7 separate regions of the Homo sapiens genome follow, and regions 2, 3, 4, 5, 6 and 7 are each linked to region 1. Evidence: promoter capture Hi-C in 16 types of primary human blood cells and fetal thymus (Javierre and others, 2016). All regions are on one chromosome and are shown on one strand. Each heading gives the region's core, a stretch centred on a gene start or on the middle of the fragment in contact. The rest is flanking DNA. Distances are from core to core; before and after follow the strand shown.

Evidence for each region. The method cuts DNA at HindIII sites, captures the fragments that hold promoters and counts their contacts. A CHiCAGO score of 5 or more calls a contact.
Region 2: a fragment that was not itself captured here is called in contact with the fragment with the promoter of PIP5K1B in region 1 in 1 of 17 cell types (neutrophils); the score reaches 7.1 in neutrophils.
Region 3: a fragment that was not itself captured here is called in contact with the fragment with the promoter of PIP5K1B in region 1 in 2 of 17 cell types (naive B cells and total B cells); the score reaches 5.3 in naive B cells.
Region 4: a fragment that was not itself captured here is called in contact with the fragment with the promoter of PIP5K1B in region 1 in 2 of 17 cell types (naive B cells and total B cells); the score reaches 8.1 in naive B cells.
Region 5: a contact is called between a fragment that was not itself captured here and the fragment with the promoter of PIP5K1B in region 1, in 5 of 17 cell types (total B cells, naive B cells, megakaryocytes and 2 more). The highest score is 15.1, in total B cells.
Region 6: a fragment that was not itself captured here is called in contact with the fragment with the promoter of PIP5K1B in region 1 in 5 of 17 cell types (naive B cells, total B cells, erythroblasts and 2 more); the score reaches 10.9 in naive B cells.
Region 7: a fragment that was not itself captured here is called in contact with the fragment with the promoter of PIP5K1B in region 1 in 1 of 17 cell types (total B cells); the score reaches 6.4 in total B cells.

The regions. Positions count from the first base shown.
Region 1 is chr9:68,703,751-68,706,577 of GRCh38, reverse strand. It overlaps PIP5K1B (phosphatidylinositol-4-phosphate 5-kinase type 1 beta), which reads right to left and starts at 1,338. Exons shown (of 16, transcript NM_003558.4): 1 at 816-1,338. RefSeq lists enhancers at 121-210, 899-1,824 and a silencer at 961-1,480. The HindIII fragment of the contact is 6,803 bases long and covers 1-2,827 here.
Region 2 is chr9:68,452,724-68,455,550 of GRCh38, reverse strand. The region is part of intron 6 of PGM5 (phosphoglucomutase 5); the gene reads right to left. Among named protein-coding and RNA genes, the nearest start is that of TMEM252, 87 kb to the left of the region's middle. The HindIII fragment of the contact is 7,166 bases long and covers 1-2,827 here.
Region 3 is chr9:68,493,018-68,495,844 of GRCh38, reverse strand. All of the region lies in intron 9 of PGM5 (phosphoglucomutase 5), which reads right to left. Among named protein-coding and RNA genes, the nearest start is that of TMEM252, 46 kb to the left of the region's middle. The HindIII fragment of the contact is 225 bases long and covers 1,330-1,554 here.
Region 4 is chr9:68,510,979-68,513,805 of GRCh38, reverse strand. All of the region lies in intron 10 of PGM5 (phosphoglucomutase 5), which reads right to left. Among named protein-coding and RNA genes, the nearest start is that of TMEM252, 28 kb to the left of the region's middle. The HindIII fragment of the contact is 3,051 bases long and covers 1-2,827 here.
Region 5 is chr9:68,894,841-68,897,667 of GRCh38, reverse strand. All of the region lies in intron 8 of PIP5K1B (phosphatidylinositol-4-phosphate 5-kinase type 1 beta), which reads right to left. Among named protein-coding and RNA genes, the nearest start is that of PABIR1, 120 kb to the right of the region's middle. RefSeq lists an enhancer at 1,370-1,519. The HindIII fragment of the contact is 2,284 bases long and covers 211-2,494 here.
Region 6 is chr9:68,874,046-68,876,872 of GRCh38, reverse strand. It overlaps PIP5K1B (phosphatidylinositol-4-phosphate 5-kinase type 1 beta), which reads right to left. Exons shown (of 16, transcript NM_003558.4): 6 at 79-196. Among named protein-coding and RNA genes, the nearest start is that of PABIR1, 95 kb to the right of the region's middle. The HindIII fragment of the contact is 7,190 bases long and covers 1-2,827 here.
Region 7 is chr9:68,530,499-68,533,325 of GRCh38, reverse strand. PGM5 (phosphoglucomutase 5) reads right to left here. Exons shown (of 11, transcript NM_021965.4): 11 at 2,265-2,827. Among named protein-coding and RNA genes, the nearest start is that of TMEM252, 9.0 kb to the left of the region's middle. The HindIII fragment of the contact is 3,321 bases long and covers 1-2,827 here.

The DNA.
Region 1 (2,827 bases), core at 89-2,588:
CTGATTTCAGTAGATTCGATGAAAGAATTAATCAATCTACCCAAATAACTTCTCCGGAATAGGTTTCTACTCAGCCACGCTGGGCACCAGACAAGAGAGCTGGGGGTTGGGGGGGATAAGAAATGACAACACGCTCATCTGCATAGATGCCAGATAAGCAGACATTTGTTTTCTTCTGTTCTGGCGACTCCTGGCACCGGCATAGTAAATCAAACCCGGGCATTCTCCCTCCCCAGTGCCCCTACACTCCCAGCCCCTGCCCCAGATGTTGAAGCGTCACGTTGACCAGGCTGGGGGAGAAAGCCTGGGAAACGCAGAAGTCTGTTGCTGCATTTAGACTGGAACCATACCGCACCTGTTCAATCCGGCACCAGCGCCAGAAATGAGCAGAACACCAACTCGCAAGCCCCTCTTGAGATACCAGGGCGCCTAACAAGTTCACCGCTGTTTCGTACCGGGGGAGGGTGGTGGGAGACCTTTCCTTCCGCTGCCAAACTCTGCAGGTTCCCCGGAAAAGGGGAGAGTACTCCTATTTAAGTGAACCCAGAGTGATCTCCGAGTGTCACTGCGGCCCCGGGGATCCGGGTGACGAGCGGGTGGGTGTCCGTTGGGAGCGCGCAGCTGTGGCCCCCGCGGAACGAAGGTCCGCTTCGGTGGCCACGGGCGCCCTCTCCACGTCACCCCCAGCACAACGCAGACAGGCAAAGTGGAAGGGTAGAGAGACCGACGGGTTTCAGCAGAGATGCAGAGCCCCTAAGCGCAAGCCCCTCAGAAGGGTCTAGTGGGAAGGGGCCGGGGACGCACAGGAAACTTACCTCACCCGGGCAGCATTCGGGTGCCTCCGCTACCAAGACCAGTTGCGCCACAGTCTGCAAGTTATCGGGACGTTGTCGCTTCCCCACAGCGAAGGGAGAGCAGTGCAGGCGAGGGGCGGGAGGGGCGGGAGGGGCGGGAGGGCGGAGGGGGCGGCGGGCGGGGCCGGGGCCGGGGGCAACGCTGAGGGCGGGCAGGTGCCGGGGCTGGAGCCGCGGGGCCAAACTCGCTCCGGACGCGCCTTGGCGGGGGCGCGCGGCTACGAGTGTGCAGTGCGCGCGCGCCGCGGCGAGTGTGTGTGTCCCCGCTTTCCCCTTCCTTCCCCGCCGGTCCTCCGGCCAGACGGAGCAGCGAGCGGCCGCCAAAGCCCAGCAGCTCCGAGCGGCTCCACTGCCGGGCGCAGCCTCGCCGCGGCGCGTTCGGGGACCGGGAACCGGGGACCGAGAGGAGCAGCAGCGGCGCCCGCCGGGCTCGGGCGCGGGTTCCCGCTTGGTGCGCGCCGGAGTCGGAGCGAGGCGCAGAGAGAGCCGGCTGCGCGGCGGCTGCCGCGGCTGGGGAGGCTGCAGGCCCCGCCTGCCGGCCGCCCAGGCTCTTCCCCTTTTCTCTCCACCCACTTGCCCCATCCCCGCAAGCCCTGCAGCGAAGGCAGACCGGTTTGCAGCACCTGCCGCAACAGCGGCCGGAGCTTCAGCCGCAGTGGGCTGGGCGTCTCAGCCGGTGTGTGGGGACCGGGCGCCTGTCCCGCCGCCGCTGGCCCAGACTGAGAGCGGGGTTGGGGTGGGCCCCTGGAATTGGCGGGTGCCTCCAAGACTCCAGGGGTTCCCGGCCGTTCTCAGCGTCTTGAAGCCCTGCGAAACAGGGCTGTGGGGATAGGGCGTCCCCTTTCCCCAGGCCACAGAACTCAGCTACGCCTGGTCGCCCGCCTGCTAGACTCTGCCTGAGGCGGCGAAGCCGGCACTTGAGCGCAGGCGCCCCCTTCACGAGGAAGGGACAGGCCAGGATTCCAAGGCGTTGGTTGCTCCCATTCTAAGGACAGCAGGTGTTCCCAGCAAGTAAGACCTACCCAACAGGTAGGGGTAGGCTGGCGAGGAGGTCCTAGGAGAGAGAAGCTGGGGGATGTCATGGGAAAGCGCTGTGACGGGGCTGAGGGCCAATTCCTACTGATAGCGCTTAGTGGGCTGGGGGCACTTGCAACGTCACCTGATGTCAGTCTAGCTGCGAAGAGGGTAGGGGTCAGATCTAAAGGACTCCTTTGGGAAAATGCTATCATGAAAGCTAAAGCTAAATTCACTTAATAGGAACCAAAAGGTAGCGGATCCTTCGCGGCTGAATTGAAGCAAATGGTATTTTTCAGCCTCATCACTTCCTTCCACTTACCCTTCTTTACCAAAAACAACGCCGGTGGAAAACGTGGGATACATTCTGTCTGGGGAATAACAACATTTCATGATCCTTATCTTCAGAGATCTCTGGCTTCCAGTTTCTGTTTGAAGGATACTCCCTTAGTTCTCTGCAAATGAACACCTCTTTTCAGTTTTGTAATCTCTTTGTTTCTCTCACCCCCCACCTTGAGTGAGTCTGCTATGGTTTAATATCAGCCTTGAATCAAGTGCAATAATTTCTTGATAACAGAAGTATCTATTTTTTTTTAGCTTTACTGAGCCATAATTGACAAATAAAACAAATATCTGTTATTCTTCAGCTGTTTTCCCAGCCTGCTTCTTGCAGATGTGGCTGGCCATTACTGAGAGATTTAAGGTATGGTTTGTTTAGAACCCTGTGACTTGGGTCTGGTTTTCTCCTGGCATCCTAGACGCTTCACAGCTCAGAGCAGGAGGAACATACATCTAGTCCAGCCCTCCCGCTTTACAGATGAGGAAACTAAGGTCTCAAGACATTAAGTAACCCAAGGACCAGAACACAGTTTCCCTGACTCTCAATCCCTGAACAATAACTAGCAGAAATATTGTATTAACAAAGTTCAAGATGGGGTGGATAGACCAGTGGTGGAGGA
Region 2 (2,827 bases), core at 202-2,701, 250 kb after region 1:
TTACATGAATAGAACTCAAAACCTTTCCTGTTTTTTTTTTTTTTTAACTAAGAGATGATGCTTATACTTTGTGTACTATGAACATTTCCCCTTCCTTTTCTCCTGCTAACCTGTCCACCAATATCACAGAAAAGAATTCATCAGTCCTGGGTATGGTTCTTATTTTTGGCTCTCTTTAGGGAGTTCCTGTTTTTTGGACAATAGATTAATATCTCTCAGGGCCAAAACTCTACCGATTCCAGGCGGAGATGCCCTGAGCAGGGCAACATGCAAAACTTTGCATTCCCTTTGGGAATGTGAGTGTCAGCTGTCCATGGTGGGTTCAGAATACCATGGATTGAACACCACATTCCACCTGTTTCATTTCATCGTGTAACTCTGATCTGTGACCCAATGGATGACGCAGGTTGCTGTTTCCTATGAAGCCAAATCAGGTCACAGGCAGCTCTCTCTGCATGGTTCCGAGAAGACGAGCATATATCAAGGGATGCACAGGCAGCCACCCTGCCTGAAAGGAACCATCTTCAAGACTGCATTTACCTTCCCAGGGTTTCCTTCGGTCACCCAGGTTTGAGTTTAATTTTATCAGGAAGCATAAGGAAAGGTCATGCCATACTAATTCTGCTCTAATGTCTTTTAAAGAAACACTTCAGTTTAATGACACATAGTTACGAGGAAAGGGAATATTGGAAAGGTCAATGTTCTTTTGTGGGACGTGAGAGTTTTACAGCAAAAGCTAAGGCTGAGTGAGCAGGAAAGGCAGGCAAACATGCGCTGCCTGTGGAATCCAGTTTAATGTCTTAGCACGGAGGAGAGTAGGGACTCTCAGTCCCCACGCAGCTCCACCCCTTCTTGCAGTGCAACCTTGGCCAAGTTACTTAACCTCCATAAGCCTGGATCTTTTACCTACAAAATGGAATGATAATATGTCTCCTTACTCAGTGGGGACTAAATGCGATGAGGCCTGGGAGCCCTGGATCCCCAGAGCACTCCGTGGGCATCGGCAAGAGTGATCGGCCTCATGAACTCTCCTACTGCGGCATCATCCTGCCATAACAAACTATTTTTGAGATGGAGCCCCCTTCAAGCACCAGGCCACTTCAGTTCTTTGCACACATCGTTCACTTAGGTAGGGATACTCCTTGTATCAATGAGGTCCCCAACAGAATTGATGGCACACTCAAAACTGAGTAGTTTGAGAGTTTAATACAGGAACTGTTTACACAGGTGTGGCTAGTGGAGAGGGCAAGTAACATCAGGGCTACCAGCGTCCCATCCCTAGATTCATTACTGAAATCCAGGGACAGATCTGTGTGGATAGGGCTGCTTGGCAGGAACCTTGACCTTCAGAAGAGTCATGTTTCCAGCCTATGGAAATCCTATAGGGAGAGAAAGAAATCCCTGCTTGCATTCTCCTCCTTCTGTCTAGTAACTGCAGTGCTCCCAATTGCCCAAGCCCAACTAAAATCTGGAGGGAAGGGTGGGGATCTCTTGATAGTCCCTATAGGTCAGTCTACAGGACGGGGAGCAGAGAGAAAGAGATGGAGTGGAGGTCTTGAAGGAAAATGAAAGACACCAGTACACTCTTCATCCACCCCCTCCTGGACTTAGGCCGCTTCCTTACTTTCCAGGTTTATCTGGCCAGTCCTCTCTTTGTACTGCCACTGCAAACCCCAGGAGTTAGACACTCAGCACAGGATATTGCCTTAGATGCTGGGACACCTAACTCCTTCTCTAATCCGTTAGTCTCTTGAAGGTAAGTGCTTAAAGACACTTGCTCATTTCATGCAAACTTCATGGGGCCCATCAGAACATGGACTCCTCCTACATTAATATAAAGGTGCTTCCAGAACTTGGTCTTAAAATACCAGTGGAAGCAAATACATGGGATGATTGAAAGTTTGAGATAAGGAGGGAGATTACAGCATGTTCACCCCTGTAATCCCAACACTTTGGGAGGCCAAGGAGGGGGGATAGCTTGAGCCCAGGAGTTTGAGACCACCCTAGGCAAAACTCCTGGCTCAAAAAAAGAAAAAATACTAAAATTAGCCAGCTGTGGTGGTGTGCACCTGTAGTCTCATCTACTTGGGAGGCTGAGATGGGAGGATTGCTTGAGCCCAGGAGTTCAAGGCTGCAGTTAGCTATAATTATGCCACTGTACTCCAGCCTGGGCAGCAGCAAGACCCTGTCTCAAAAAACAAAACCAAACCAGAAAGTTTAAGATAAAATTAAGCGATGGTGGATGAATTTCCAAAGGAATTACATACAAAGGGTTGGCTGAAAAGGTTAATAACCTTATATGTTAATTTACCAAGTCCAGTGCTATAAATTTATTATGAAAAGGTAAGAGACTATGGTAAAAGTGGACTCTCTACTTTGGCAGGATATTTCAAAACCAAATGCTCATTTCATTGTAAAACTTCACAAAGAGGGTAGAGTATACATTTCTCACATTTACACAGAGCACCTTGTGGAGTTGGTGGTTTCATTCAGCACACATGGGAAAATGCTGGCTAAGATTTACCAACCAATATTTTCTTCATAGGACTATGATAGTGGTGGGGTCCAAGGGAATTTACTCCTACTGAACACTTTTGAAGAGCAAGGGAGAAGAAGGACTATGTTAAATGCTTTTAACTCACATCAAGGATTCCCAGCAAGATGTCTTGTCCAAAGAGCCTTGAGAAAGGAGATGTTGGAAGGTGATGCCTTGGAAGCAGAGATACCCCTCCTCCAGGTCCTAGTTTGCACTAAGCTCTGAACTCAGCAGGGAAGGGCAGCCCTGCCTTAGCATCCACTCTGGGACTAGCCTAGTGGGGACAGCTGA
Region 3 (2,827 bases), core at 193-2,692, 210 kb after region 1:
TTTTATCCCTACAGCATAAGATAGAAAATATAACCATTTGAATTATCAAAATCTCAGTAGAGAGAAATTATGTTTATGTAGATTGTTATAAGGATATAAAATCCCTCCATTCCCTGGTGTTCCAGCTTCTAGTCATAGGTTCACCTGAACCTGTATTTGGCTCAAATCAACTTACCTCTCACCACCTACTCCTAACATAAATGAATTTATTAAATTGCACTTTAGTTTTATGTTCTCACTTTTACTGCAGGATGCTACAAGCTATGTCTTATAAAATCCACTTTTGTAGTCACTAGTAGAAATATTGTTAGAGGCTGTATGAAGCTCTGCCTGAGACATTCCTTCAAGAGCCAAGTATTAGGAAAGCCTTTCCTTCCCTAAGGAACTTGTATTCTTTTTCTTTCTGACAATAAGAACTTTGTAACTAACCACATTTCCCTTTTCGATATGGCTGCCAGGATACTTAATGCCAAATTTGAGGTTCAGCCCAAGTGGATCCTCATGACTTGCATGACTATAAATTTTTCTTCTTCTGTTCTTGACTCTACTCTTACTTATATATTCCCTAGTCTTGATTTATGTTTCTTATTTATATTCTAACAACTTCATTATGTGTGTTTTTGCCGCCACAAGTCTTGAAGAAACAAGGCTCAGTGAAAATGAATAAAACAAGTTTCCACCGCAGTGTTAACCTTAAAATTTTGGACTTGCTGAGTTATGACTTTGGGTTCTTCATTAGCTAACAAGCTCTGGGAGGACAGAGCCTTATATACCTCATTCATCATCATTTTATCCACATAGCCTAGGACAATGCCTGGCACACTGTAGACCTTCCATAAACACTTGTTGAATGAATGTCACTGCACGTTCGACAACTAAAGTGAGCACCACTGCAGTCCCCCTGAGGCAGTCTCAGAGAGCCTGCCTTCGCATTTAGCAAGGATCCACAGGCTACATGAAAACACATGCACGTTCTTCATGGTGAACTAGAGCTGATGTATCTACCTTGAAGAGTGGTTGCAAAAGATAAACTAAGAAAGTGCCTGGCATAGCATCATCATGGCAGGGCTTGACTGTTTATTCCTCCACCATTTCTCAAGATGTCTTAAGACAAGGGCCAGTTTTGGCTAAAAACAATGGAGTTGAACCATGGTAGGTTCTTGTCCCCAGATGTATGACCTTAGGCAAACCATTAGCTCATTAATTGCAAAATGCTACATATTGAAATCAGTGGGAGGTCTTTAAAAAATGGTGGTGCCTGGCTTTCACCCCAAACATTGTGATTTAATTCTTTTGGGGTGTTACTTGGGAATTAGGATTTTAAAAGCTTTCTGGGTGATTCTAATGTGCAGTAACTAATTGCAATAACCTCTTTTTTCTGGGTCACTTGCCTCATCTATCAAGTGACTGGACTGTGCTACATGTCCCTTATAAGGAAGGTCCCTTTAGGATTTAAGGTTTCATACATAGGCTCTCACTGGGCTGGGACTGTAGGAGGGCTGTTAACACAGTGAGGCTAATAAAACAACTTCATGCCACTGAATCCTGAAAGCTTCCCCCTGGGGCCTTGTCAGCAGCAGAACCACCTCTTGAACCATCTGACATTATTATTTTTTTTTTTTAGCACAGTCTTCGTAGGAATTCCTGGAGCAACTGTGAAAGAATTCATGATATCTCACTAGCCACAGCAGCTAGAGTAGCCGGAATATCCAGGATGACACATAGCCACACACTCAAAAAAGGGAAAAATATGCTCTCCTTTATTAGAAGACAATGTTAATTATGTGGTGGGGAGGAGTGTGGGTATCAAAAGAGCACTTCAGTTCCAGCTTAGTGTTTTCCTTACTTTTCAGTGCCTGTGGTTGTGAGCTTTAATGATGACAGTCGAGTTCTGCTCACCTTAGCTTTGTCCCAGTGAAGAATGATTGATAAAGGATTTCATAACCCTTGTCCATATGCAGCTATCTCCACACAAAAATCCTTCAGTGTGCTTCCAGTTATCACTGTAGCATCTCTTTTTCTCCCTGGATTTGCCCCCTCTTTGATTTGCTGTTTATGAAGAGTCAGTTTGGAAATGATACAAGAATAGCAACTGGATAAACTCAGGCTAGAATGCTGGCTTGGCCACTTTTTTAGCTGGTGGTCTTGAGTCACTTAAGCTCTCTAAGCCTTAGTTTCCTAAAAAGCAGTTGAAAAATAATACAGCCTAGCTTATTGGGTTGTTGTGAGTGTCAGATCTTAACATCCTGAAAGAAGGATCTTAGAGTCATTCTTGCCAATCTCTCTTTTTATTGAAAAGAAAGAAGTTAAAACACTTGCTCAAGGTAACGTATTTAGTAAATGGAGGAGCTTCATTTACTTCCATTTAGGTCTTCTGACTCTAGGCTTACAATCTGAGGTTGAACCATATGCAACTACTGATATTCACACATTGCTTCTCATGCGAAATATCTGAACAATATCTTATGTTTTGTATTTTTCCCAAAGCTGACACAGAGCCTTATGTAGAGTAGGTATCTGATAAATGTTTGATAAATAAATGTTAGGGTTTTTACTATTTTTTTAATTTTAAAAATAAACCCTTGTGTAAATCAATACAGGGAAATCTGTAAGTTGCTAAATACACACAGAGCTGCCAGATATTAGTTTGGAGACTGTAGGACATGTTGTAGCCAGGCAGGGAAGGGTGAACTGTACATTACCAACAGTTATTTGGCAGCATTGGACCTAGTCAAATACTGACTTGGGATGAATTCCAGGGGAAAACAGCATATGGCCCTGCAATCTGGTACAGTGTCGCATATATAGTCAGTTGGCCACAGCAGGC
Region 4 (2,827 bases), core at 113-2,612, 190 kb after region 1:
ATCATCAAAGTATCTTAGCTTTTGTTAAACACCACACTGACTGTCCTGACTGTAATTCCCAAGAATATAATTAAAAGCAAAGAAAGAAAGAATAAAAACAACAGAATTGCTACTTCCTAGGGAAATGGGGTGAGGTTCCTTGGAGACTGGGTTTGAGGATCACTGTTAATGTGACTGAAATGCACTAGAACCTTGTTATCAGCTCCCGGAAGCCCCATTCACAGGGACATGCAATGTCACAGCACTCCCTGGCTTGGGGTCACTACTGAATGTCACGTGTTTGCTTCCCTTTCTTTGTAAGAATTCACCAGGGCTCATATTCATACTTTTCTTTTTTCATCCCATTTATTTCTTAACGTTTTTCCCTTTTCTTCTGACATAGTGCTGCTCTTCTGAAAATCATGTGTAAGCAATTGCTTTAAAAAGAAAAATGAAGAACCCTTCTGACAAGAAACAAAAGACCTGAAAAAGGAATTTGATTTCATGAATACAAACATAATCATTTCCCTTTCATGTTTGGTTGCAATCAAAAGCTATGGAGTTCAACCTCAGAAGCCTCATGCTGGAGATTTCCAGAGAGATTTGATATTTTTTTCCCTAAAACTTCACAATTCATCTATGTATACAAATATACACAAATACAAATGTAATTTTGAAATTTATAGTGTGTATGGTTTACCCAAACTCATGTTGATACATGCTGTACTGAATGTAATCAGAAATTGTAAATAACGTGTCATATTCAGAAACCTATAAGGCAAGGATCAACAAATTATAGGCCTTAGGCCAAACCCTGGCCACCACCTGGTTTTGGTGCAGCCATAAAAATGGTTTTTATGTTTAATGGTTGGGAAAAAAATAAGATTTTGTGACATGTTAAAATTATCTTAAGTCAATTACAGTGCCTATAGTTTTATTGGAATATAGCTTCACTAATTCATTTATGTATTACCTGTGGCGGCTTTTGTGCAACAGTGGCAGTTGAGAAGTTGTAACACAGACCATACGACTAATATTATGGGTTGAATTTGTCTTCCATAAGTGCATACGTTGAGGTCCTAATTGCCAATACCTCAGAATGTGACATTATTTTAAGACGGGGCCTTTACAGAGGTACTCATGTTAAAATGAGATCATTAGGGTGAGGTCTAATCCAATATGACTGGTGTCCTTATTAAAAGGGGAAATTTGGACCCAGAGACACACAAGAAGGAAGATGATAATGAAGAGATACAGGGAAAAGACAGCCATCTATGAGCCAAAAAGAGAGGCATGGAACAGATCAACAGATCCTTCCCTCACAGCCCTCAGAGGGAACCAGCTCTGTCAACACACTCATCTCAGACTTCTAACCTCCAGAATAAGAAACAAGTTCTTGCTTTGTAAGCCACCCAGTTTGTGGTACTTTGTTATATCAGCCCTAGCAAACTAATACAGCTAGCAAAGCCTAAACTATTTACTCTCTGGGCCTATTCAGAAAAAACTTGACTCCTGCTCCAAGGGACCAGTTTTTCTGTTTAATCCCTTGAAGCCAGAGAGCACATGCCTCCTGGCTAGTCAAAGAAACTTCAGGCATCCTTTCTTCAATGAACCTGCCTTTCATCACACACCCACTCCAGTGTTCAAGCCCTTTCTCTCTGGTAAAAGAGCTTGGAACAACCAACAGATTGCACATTATTTGGATGAAATGAAATCATTGAACAACCCCTACTCACTACCTCTTACTCCAAGCCAGGAGGGCAGTGAATTTGTTCCATGAATGGAGAGACAAGTAGAGAAACTCCACTTCATCCTTGAACCTTCTGACAAAGCATGGTACATCTAAAATGCCATGTCATGAGAGCCCTGGGAGCTCTCAGAGAAGACCTAGGTTTTTAGAAGCTGTCAGTTCTCTTGGGACATTTCTCATAGATCCAGTTTGGTCTCTGAGATGTTAATGGGAGGGAAAAGGACAAGTCAATTGCATTATAAAACAAATTGCTAAGTAATCTGGGAATCTTTTATCCTCATGTGATAAGAAAATGAGTCAATACCATTATTAATAAAAATAATGGTGGTGAAACCCCTTCTCTACTAAAAATACAAAAATTAGCCAGGCATGGTGACGCATGCCTGTAGTCCCAGCTGCTCAGGAAGCTGAGGCAGGAGAATTGCTTGAACCTGGGAGGTGGAGGTTGCAGTGAGCTGAGATTGCACCACTGCACTCCAGCCTGGTGACAGAGTGAGACTCCATCTAAAAAAAAAAAAAAAAAAAAAAAAAGGCAAAAACAATAACATTAGTGACAATCAACATTTATTGAACATTTATTCACATGTCAGGTATAAACCAAAAATATAATTCTAAGCCCCAAACTGACTGAATGGACATCTCCTCCCTGCCCCTAATCATTGGCCAAAAGGATCCCGAAAACTAGTTCAGGCCATAACAGGAAAAGGGCGTAGCATATGCCTCAATATATCCTCCTCTCTGGAGCTTAGCTGTTGACATTTAGAGATTCTAGGACTGACAGAACAGACTCTTTGTAGCAGTAAGATACCAAATTCCAACCTGACCCTGATATAGCATCAGATGACAGATAACAGGCACTGAAGGAAATCAAAGCATCTTACCCCAAAATATATTTCTTTGACGTAATTTGGAATGGCTCTACAAAGCCATCTTTTGTGGGGGAAATCGGCCTTCTGTAGAGAATCCCCTTCCCTTGCTAGATCTTCTCTGGAGAGTCTGACACCTTTTGAGGTCTAATAAGAGACATTTACCTTCTATTCTCTCTGAAGCCTGCTACTTAGAGGCTTCATCCACATAACAAGAACCTCAGCTTCCACA
Region 5 (2,827 bases), core at 103-2,602, 190 kb before region 1:
CACCAGAAAGGGTCTTCTGACAATATGTGGCTCTCATATTATGTGGCCACTTTCCTCTTCTACCCCACATGCTCTCCCTATTAACTGCCCCAAAACCAAACAACTATAGCTCCCGGAACACATTGTGCTATTTCACACCCATTGTTTCATACCTATTGTTCTCTTATCCTAGAAATATGCTTCTACTGCTTTGCCTATCCGGAGAAAGCTTCTCATCCTTTAAAAGCAAGCTACAATGTTCCCTACTCTAATCTTCACAATATAATATCATTGCACATACTAGACTGTATGGCAATTGATAAAAAATAAAGGTCGTGCACCTCATGCTTGGCATGTAGTGTGCTTGCAATATGTGCTGATAAGTGAATAGAAGCATATATCCTAATATAGGTTTAGTTCACCTTTCTCTGCCTGGGGTGCTGATACAGTAATACATTTCTCTAACTGGTTTGTTTCTAGAGCCTTAGCCATACTGTCTCACAGGAATTTTAGCAGAGGAGATTCCTGATTGATAGGTGCTGGCCTCAGCTCAGACTAACCTTGCAGACCCTCTGGGTCTCTGCAGCCCCTCAGCCAGCACTGAGGCTCAGCTCTGCAAAGCAAGGGCAATATTGGGGCGATGTCAACCACATATCCTATTGCAATCATCCAGTGAGTTGGCCTTTCAGAGGATGACCTGAAGAGAGAGAGAGGTAACTCTAGGAAGGGGATTCTGAGCCTTGGGGAAGAAGGAAGGGAAGGAACAACGGGCTCCAAGAGATTCACGATCCATCACGAGGATGGGCATTTTTTGGGGGGAGGAGAGTTCACAGCATTCATACGATTTACTAAGAGGCCCTTGACTATTAAATATTAATATTCACCATTCCAGAAATAGGCTTTCCTTGAGGCAGCTCTGCTCAGAGCACCAGCTGTTGAATCCAGATCCCAGAGGACTTGGTCATGGTCAGGACAGATCAGGGAAGGGAGCTGAGTTCCCCTACAGCTCAGCATTTACACACTCCCATACCAGCCCAAGAGAAGCCTTTCTGAAGGCAGATGTACATATTTTGAAGAATGTCCAGGATCTGTGTCTTGTACAACTGCAAATGCAGTGAGTAAGAGGGAGTTAGCCTCAGGATACCTCTACCTTGACCTTTATGTTCCTTAGAACAACAAACCTGCCAAAGAATAAAAAATAAAAAGGCAAATCTCCAGGGTCTCACTTGTGATGAAAAGTTTGGTTTGACCTCGCGGTCTCAGTCCTGAGCTCAGGAAACACTAATAAATAGACAAATCCTGAGCAATGGCTCTTTTACATTTGCTTTTTTTTTTTTTTCTGGCAGAGAAGCATGTGGTATTAGAAGGCAGCAGATAAAGGCTTTCCATACTAAAGAGGCAAGAAGCACACAAAAGAGAAAGCAAACTTAAAACTGGAGAGGCTGACACTAAACTCTGGGGAATTGAGAGTCACTTTTTACCCACATCCTGTAAAGGGCAGAAAAAACACAGGAAAAAGATTTCTACTAAAATATGTGTGTTCTGTTTTTACGTTTTTTGAATAGAAAAACATGCATCACTCAAATCCACTCAGATATCTGAATATCTGCTGGACGTTTTTTGTTCGTCTGTTTGCTTGGTTCCTACTGCTCCTTCCCTGACTTCTGAAAAGATAATTAAAAAAAAATCCTCAGAGTGAGACTTTAAGTTTTAGTTGTTAGAAGCACATGCCTTTGTACCCAAACAGATGTGGGCTCTGTCATTGACTTGGTAAGTAATGCTGGATAAGTTTCTGAATCTCTTTAAGAACCCAATTCTTCAGCAATTAAAATGGAAGTATGAATAGTACTGACTCCAAAGAATTGCTGAGAGAATTAAGTGAAATGATGCATTAAAAAAACCTTAGACTAACCTGGCATACTGTAAGCATTCAATAAACGGTAGCTAAACAATAGGAGTAACATCTCTGTCAATAAAGAAAAACAATTCTAAGGACACATTTTTGTGCACAATCATGCAAGCTATAACAGGCAGAAAGGAAGAAATAAAAAAAAAAAAAACAGAAACAGTAGACCTGTGTTCCTTAGTGGAAATTCCCTACTTTATACCTTAGAAGGGGTGTCAGACTGTCTTCCTCACCTTCACGTGAGTTTGGGTCTGGCAGAGAAGTGTCTCCCCTCCCCTATAACAACATGGGTCATCCGTCCAGGCCCATGGAAAGTGCAGAAAACCACAGCCTGTGCCATCATGCTTTCTGCCCACCTCCACTACCCAACTTAGCCAAGTGGCTGGACGGTTCTCCCATGATTATTATCCTTCAGAAGTTATTAGCACTGCATTTTTCTTTTCTCTAAAAAAATTTTTATCTCTTTTCACCATGTTAGAAAAAATCTTCCCTTAGTTTTTTTTTTTTTTTTTTTTTTAAAGCATTGCAGCCTGGGGGAATTCCTCCCCACTTTGGACAATCACTCCAGCTAAGTTTGCATGGAATGGTGTCTGCCCTAATTGGCAAGCTTCATTCCTGCTCACCTCTTATTCAGACCACATAAAATAATTTCAGCAAACGTGCTGCTCATATCATAGTTTTGCATCCACACTGATCTCTAGGGAGCCATTATTAATCCCAAGTACATTTTCTTTAAACTTGTCTCCCCAGTTCGAGTCTTACTTCTTCCAAGATTTCTATACGGCTTTTCTTACTCAACACCACATTAAACCTAAATTCTATTTCTTTCTAGTTAAACTATCTTCCCCACAGCGGAGAAAGAAAAGAAAACAAAGCTTTCTTGTTTCATTTTATCAAAGAAAGCTGACTTAGCTTATTAGTAAAATCAACAGAGATGTAGGT
Region 6 (2,827 bases), core at 163-2,662, 170 kb before region 1:
CCACTTGTTGCTGTTGCTATGAGACAAATGTTTACATCACACATTTCTATAGAAGGAAGAAAAATGACAGGTTCTTACCAAGTAATCATCAGGCTTGATACCAAAAAGTTCTCTGAAATATCGGAATGCTAATGGAGCGTATGTCTTAAATCTAAAGTCTGGGTAGTGATGTGCTGGGGTCAGATTGCTCCCTTCGCTGAAGTCAAAATATTAAAAAGAGAGAGAAAGAAAGAACACATTAGCAAGGACAATTTTGACCGCAAATTGTAGCTCTATTAGTCCTGGGCCAATGTTATCTCTAGAAAAATCATCCCCTGAGAGCGGGTTTCTCAAAGTTCATGTCATAAAGGCCAATGATAACCAGGCAGAATAAGACGTTAGTTAGTGAGGTCACTCCGTGCAGGCTTTCCCTGTCAATCAGTGTCACATGCCTGAAAATTCATTTATCCCCTTGTGCCTTCTTCCTGGGAAGATCACTCCATTATCACCAGTGTAACCACATTGTAATGCTTTGGGTAAAAGATCTAGGCCTTAGAGTGTGGAGCAATTTCAAAAATGCATTTTTTTAACCACGAATTTTGGATATTTGACAAACATTGTTAACCAGGGATAAGTGAAATAATTCTTAAAACATCCTACCAACAGAGAGAACCATCACATGGAATAGGACCCCAATCTGAACTCTTTTATTTACATTTTCCAAAAAAGGAGACCTTACATATTTAAAAAATTTAAAACCTGATTTCCATTCCTCAATATATCATTATCTTCTTTTCCTTTTTCTGGGTTCATTTTGAAAAATTATACACAATATTTATGATATATAAAATGTACAAAGAATAAACCAGTGAATATCAATGAATCCAAAATGCTGCTTAAGACATAAAACATTATCCATACAGTTGAAGCCCCTTCTGTACTTTTTACTGCTCAGATCCATAGAGGGATCCACTGGCCTAAATGTTGATGTTTATCAATCTCATCCTTTTTATTCTTTGACTCCATACAATATTACCTAATACATGAGCTCAGTCAAACCACCTAAGCCACTCATTCTTAAATTTTTCAGTGTTTTTGTTCTTAAAATTTTCAGAAAAATTAGAACAATGCAATAGAATTTTATGTAAAGGTTCAAAATCCCTTTGATCTACATTCTAGGTGGGACATTGAGAGCCTATGCAAGTTTATCATGGTCTGCTTTTTATGGATACCACACAAAAAGGACTGGGCAAATGACAAAGGCTTTCAGCACAGAATAAACACTTTGGATCTACTATAGTTTAAGTTGTTCAGATCAATCAGATTCTTGCATCAATGCCTGGCACATAGCAGACACTCAATAAGTATTTGTTGAGTGAAGGAATGAGTCTTCAACATAATGTTAACAGAGAAGATTTGATTATTACATGGAATTTACATTAGAAAATCAATATGTAAGGCAGAAATTCAGCATAGTCACAGGTCACCCTTGAAAACTATTTAGGAAGTATCTATTCAATATAACCAACGCAACTAGTTTTTCCTCCTGCACGATTACAGATGACTGTTTTTTTTTTTTTTTTTTTTTTTTTTTTTTTGCTGAGTACCAGAGGATGGAGCTGGCTTGTGTTGTTAGGGGTCAGCACCATATAATAAATGGTTATCTTGAAAGGCTAGGATTACACTCAGGCAGCAGCCCGGCTACACACTAGGAGAGTGACACAGGGACTAAGACTGCCTGAGAGAAGAGCAGTCACATAGTAAGGAATGACCCCCAAATCATCCACTCATTCAAATGGTTATTGTTGAATATTCAGTATGCATGATGCCCCAGTGCTGTACCCAAACATTTTCTCTTTCTATATTTTGGGATTTAGGAGGGGATTAAATCCCATGGGACTGTCAAAAGGAATGATTCTGGAACTTATATGGCATGTAATAATTTATTAATATAAATGTAGATCATATAGAAATAAAGGGTAAAAGCAAAGAGGCTCAAAGAGACCTATAACATCCTTCCTCACTTTTGCAAGCGAGTAAAAATAACCACAAGGCCTTAGGTTCTGAAGCAGGCTGCTTTCAGTGGGCTAAGAGTGTTGCCAATTTCTTCTCTCTTTTTCACCTTCTATCCCATACAAAGTAACTCATTCTACTGGAGCAGATTTCCTTCAACATTCAAAGAGGTAAGATAAAACACCCATGTTCCACCTAAATGGAGTTTCTCATTTTGTTGCAGTTTTGGGCCCAAGATTTTATCAGAGAGGATGCTGCATTTACTATTATTATTTTCATTTTGGGTTAGTTCTGAGCTCCTTGGATTATTCATCTTTCCCTGAAGTTTCCATTAATTATAATAATTTTCCTTGGGTTCACATCTCTCTGACTGCTGTGATTTATTCAGTTATGGTATAAAACGATAGTGTTAGGTTTCCCTGGAGGTGAGACAGACACACAGACACACGTACACCCATACACACAAGAATGCTCATGTACACACAGCAGAGCAGCTTCAGGTAGAGAAGGGGAACATTTATTTCCTTAGGCATACAGAAATAATAACAGGTATTTGGTCATTCAAAAAAACCACTAAATCATTCCATGAAAAAGAATTAAATCTAGCTATCTTTGGGCCATATTAAGACATGGAGAAGTATGGGCCAACTGTGAGGCAGGCTTACCTACATGGGATAATCAAGAAATTATATTTGTATAAACAGAGAAAATGAAAAGGAGTGGGCATAATACTTAATGGAGGCATCATACAGAATGGATGTTGCTTCATGGCGTAATTAACATACAGGAAATAACAATTAATTGCTGAGGTTACACACTCTTGAACCTCTGTATT
Region 7 (2,827 bases), core at 164-2,663, 170 kb after region 1:
AGCGTGTTTGGTTTCCTACTACTGCCACTAAATGCCTCTCTGGCAAATACACACACATTTCCAAATACCCGCCCTGGTTGAAAACCAGCATGTGATGTATAGTGTTGCTTGCCATTTTTCTGCAGACACGTGCTGTAATGAGTGAACCCCTCTGTAACAGCAGATCACCAGAGTTGCCCTGGAAGTTGCCACACTCTATCCATAGTTTCCTCTGATTGACTCTTGCAGTTCCCATGAAATTTGGGGCCTTTAAAGTCATTTCCTGTTTTTTTTTTTTTTTTTTTTTTTTGAGACGGAGTCTCACATTGTCACCTTGGCTGGAGTGCAATGGCATGATCTCGGCTCACTGCCGTCTCCCGAGTTCACGCAATTCTCCTGCCTCAGCCTCCTGAGTAGCTGGGATTACAGGCACACACCACCACACTCAGTTAATTTTTTGTATTTTTAGTAGAGACAGAGTTTCACTATGTTGGCCAGACTGGTCTCAAACTCCTGACCTCGTGATCCGCCTGCCTCGGCCTCCCAAAGTGATGGGATTACAGGCACGAGCCACTGCGCCCGGTCAAGTCATTTACTCTCAAAGATCAGTGGCTACAGTGGCTACAGCTCTTTTTTTTTTTTTTTTTTTTTTTTAATAGAGTCTTGCTGTTGCCCATGCTGGAGTGCACACTGCTCCATTTTGGCTCACGGCAACCTCCACCTCCTAAGTTCAAGCTATTTGCCTGCCTCAGCCTCCTGGGTAGCTGGGATTACAAGCATGCACCACCACGTCTGGCTAATTTTTGTATTTTTGGTAGAGACAATGTTTCACTATGTTGGCCAGGCTGGTCTCAAACTCCTGACCTCAAGTGATCCACCCACCTGGGCCTTCCAAATTGCTGGGATAACAGGTGTAAGCCACTACGCCCAGCCTAGAGCTTCATCTTTAAGAACATAAAGAACATCATATGGGGAACAGTGACTTCCTGCCTCTCTCCTCTCCCGAGAATTAGGCAAGAGGATGTACACATATAGTTCGGCAAGAGAAGTTTGGATTTCAAGTAAGGCAGAAATAATATCTTGGCAATGTGAATCAGAGCAGGTTCCAGAGAATGACTGTGTCCTAGACCCACCAAAAGACCTTCCCTTGACAACATAGCTGAAAAAACTCTGTCAAAATAGGCAGCTATGTAGCTGCTTCTTCCGGTGGCTGGGCCCAAGGCTTTGCTCTGCCTGACATTCACAACCCTGTGCCTGCTTCAACCCCATGCATCCAAGCCAACTCCTCAGGAGACCCCAAGCAAGTCTCCTCTCCAGCCATCCTAACCCTCATCTCCTAGTCTGTCTTCTGACTTCACTCATCCTTGATGAAATTCTGTAAATGCTTACAAATCCCAAGCAACTCTACTCTTGTGGAAACCACTCTCGTGCCACCGTCTCTGAGTCTATTGCCCCTCTCTGTGTAGTCCCACAGCACATTATTTGTGTCTCTCATAACATTTTTGTCTAACTGATTATTTGTGTATGTTTGTCATAGCCTCCTACTCCCAAATTATAAACTTATAAGATCAGGAATAATGTTTTATCCATTTCTTTGCCCCATCTAAAACAGAACTCTGCCTAGAGGAGTTGCTCAACCAATGTCCACAGAATGAATGAATGAACACATAGATGGATGAATGGATGGACTGATGGCTAAATATATATTTGGGCTACTGTCCACGCATGACTCCATATCAAAATAAAGAAATATAATTTTTATGTAAGGACTAATTTACATATGAACTTACAAGTTAGAGATCATTAAAAGTTCAGCAACTTGAGAAAATAAATATTTTCTTACCTAGAGCTGATACACCTAAGAATACATCTGAGCGTCCCAACCAAGACATCCGTGATTAATGAACACATGGATGGCTAGCATAGATGTCCACTCTTGAGACAAGAACCTGAGAACCAAAGCTATGACATGAATTTGATTCCACTGGTGATCAATCTTGAAATGGTTTTGTTTTAGAATCTCAGCTCAAAGCCACCTTCCTATTATTTTGAAATGAAGACAGTTACAGTGGAGGTCTAGATGCCATTTCAGTTTCTGCTGACTCCCAAAGGCAGTTTTGAGTAACTTACCTTTTCTGTTCCATTTAATACATGTCTCTTGCCATAATAGTGAAAAACAGCCCTTGCAGGTTTTCTGAAAGGCAGATTTATCAGGATAGGTGACCAGTACTGGAGTTTCTCAACTGGTGAGACAAACAAATAAGTAAAAACCCACAATCCTTGGATAAGGTTGAAATTAGGAATTTCTTTTTTATTGGCCACTAAATGTCCTAGCAAGTTTCTGACAGAAGCACAGACAGAAAATGGAAACAAATACCTTACTGGGAATGTTTCCTTGCTTGCACTAACCTTGACTACAGCAATAACGCATTGCTTAACAGTCAAAGTGCACCAGGTCATTTCCGCAAATGGCAGGGTGAGTGACTGTGCCGTTCCCAAGGAAGCAAAACAGACACAAACAGGTCCCACGCGCTGGGTGTCCTGGCTGAGTACAGAGGAGGCTGCTAGACCGGCAGTACCCTTTTCCCAAGTGAGGAAAGCCAGCTGTGACACTCTGCTTGCCGGCAGGGGTCCCCACCCTCCCCTCCACCATCTGGCCCATAGCTGTACCACCAATTACATTTTCTTCCAGCTTCCACTTCATTTCCTACTTTTACAGCATTTCATCCTCTCCTTTTGCAGCCTTTACAAATAAGATCAGAAATGTGTCCAAACAAGTGCATTAAGATAGGCCCCTATTGGCCAAGTCAAAGAGCTCTCACACATGGTGGTCTTTTTGCCTTCTCAA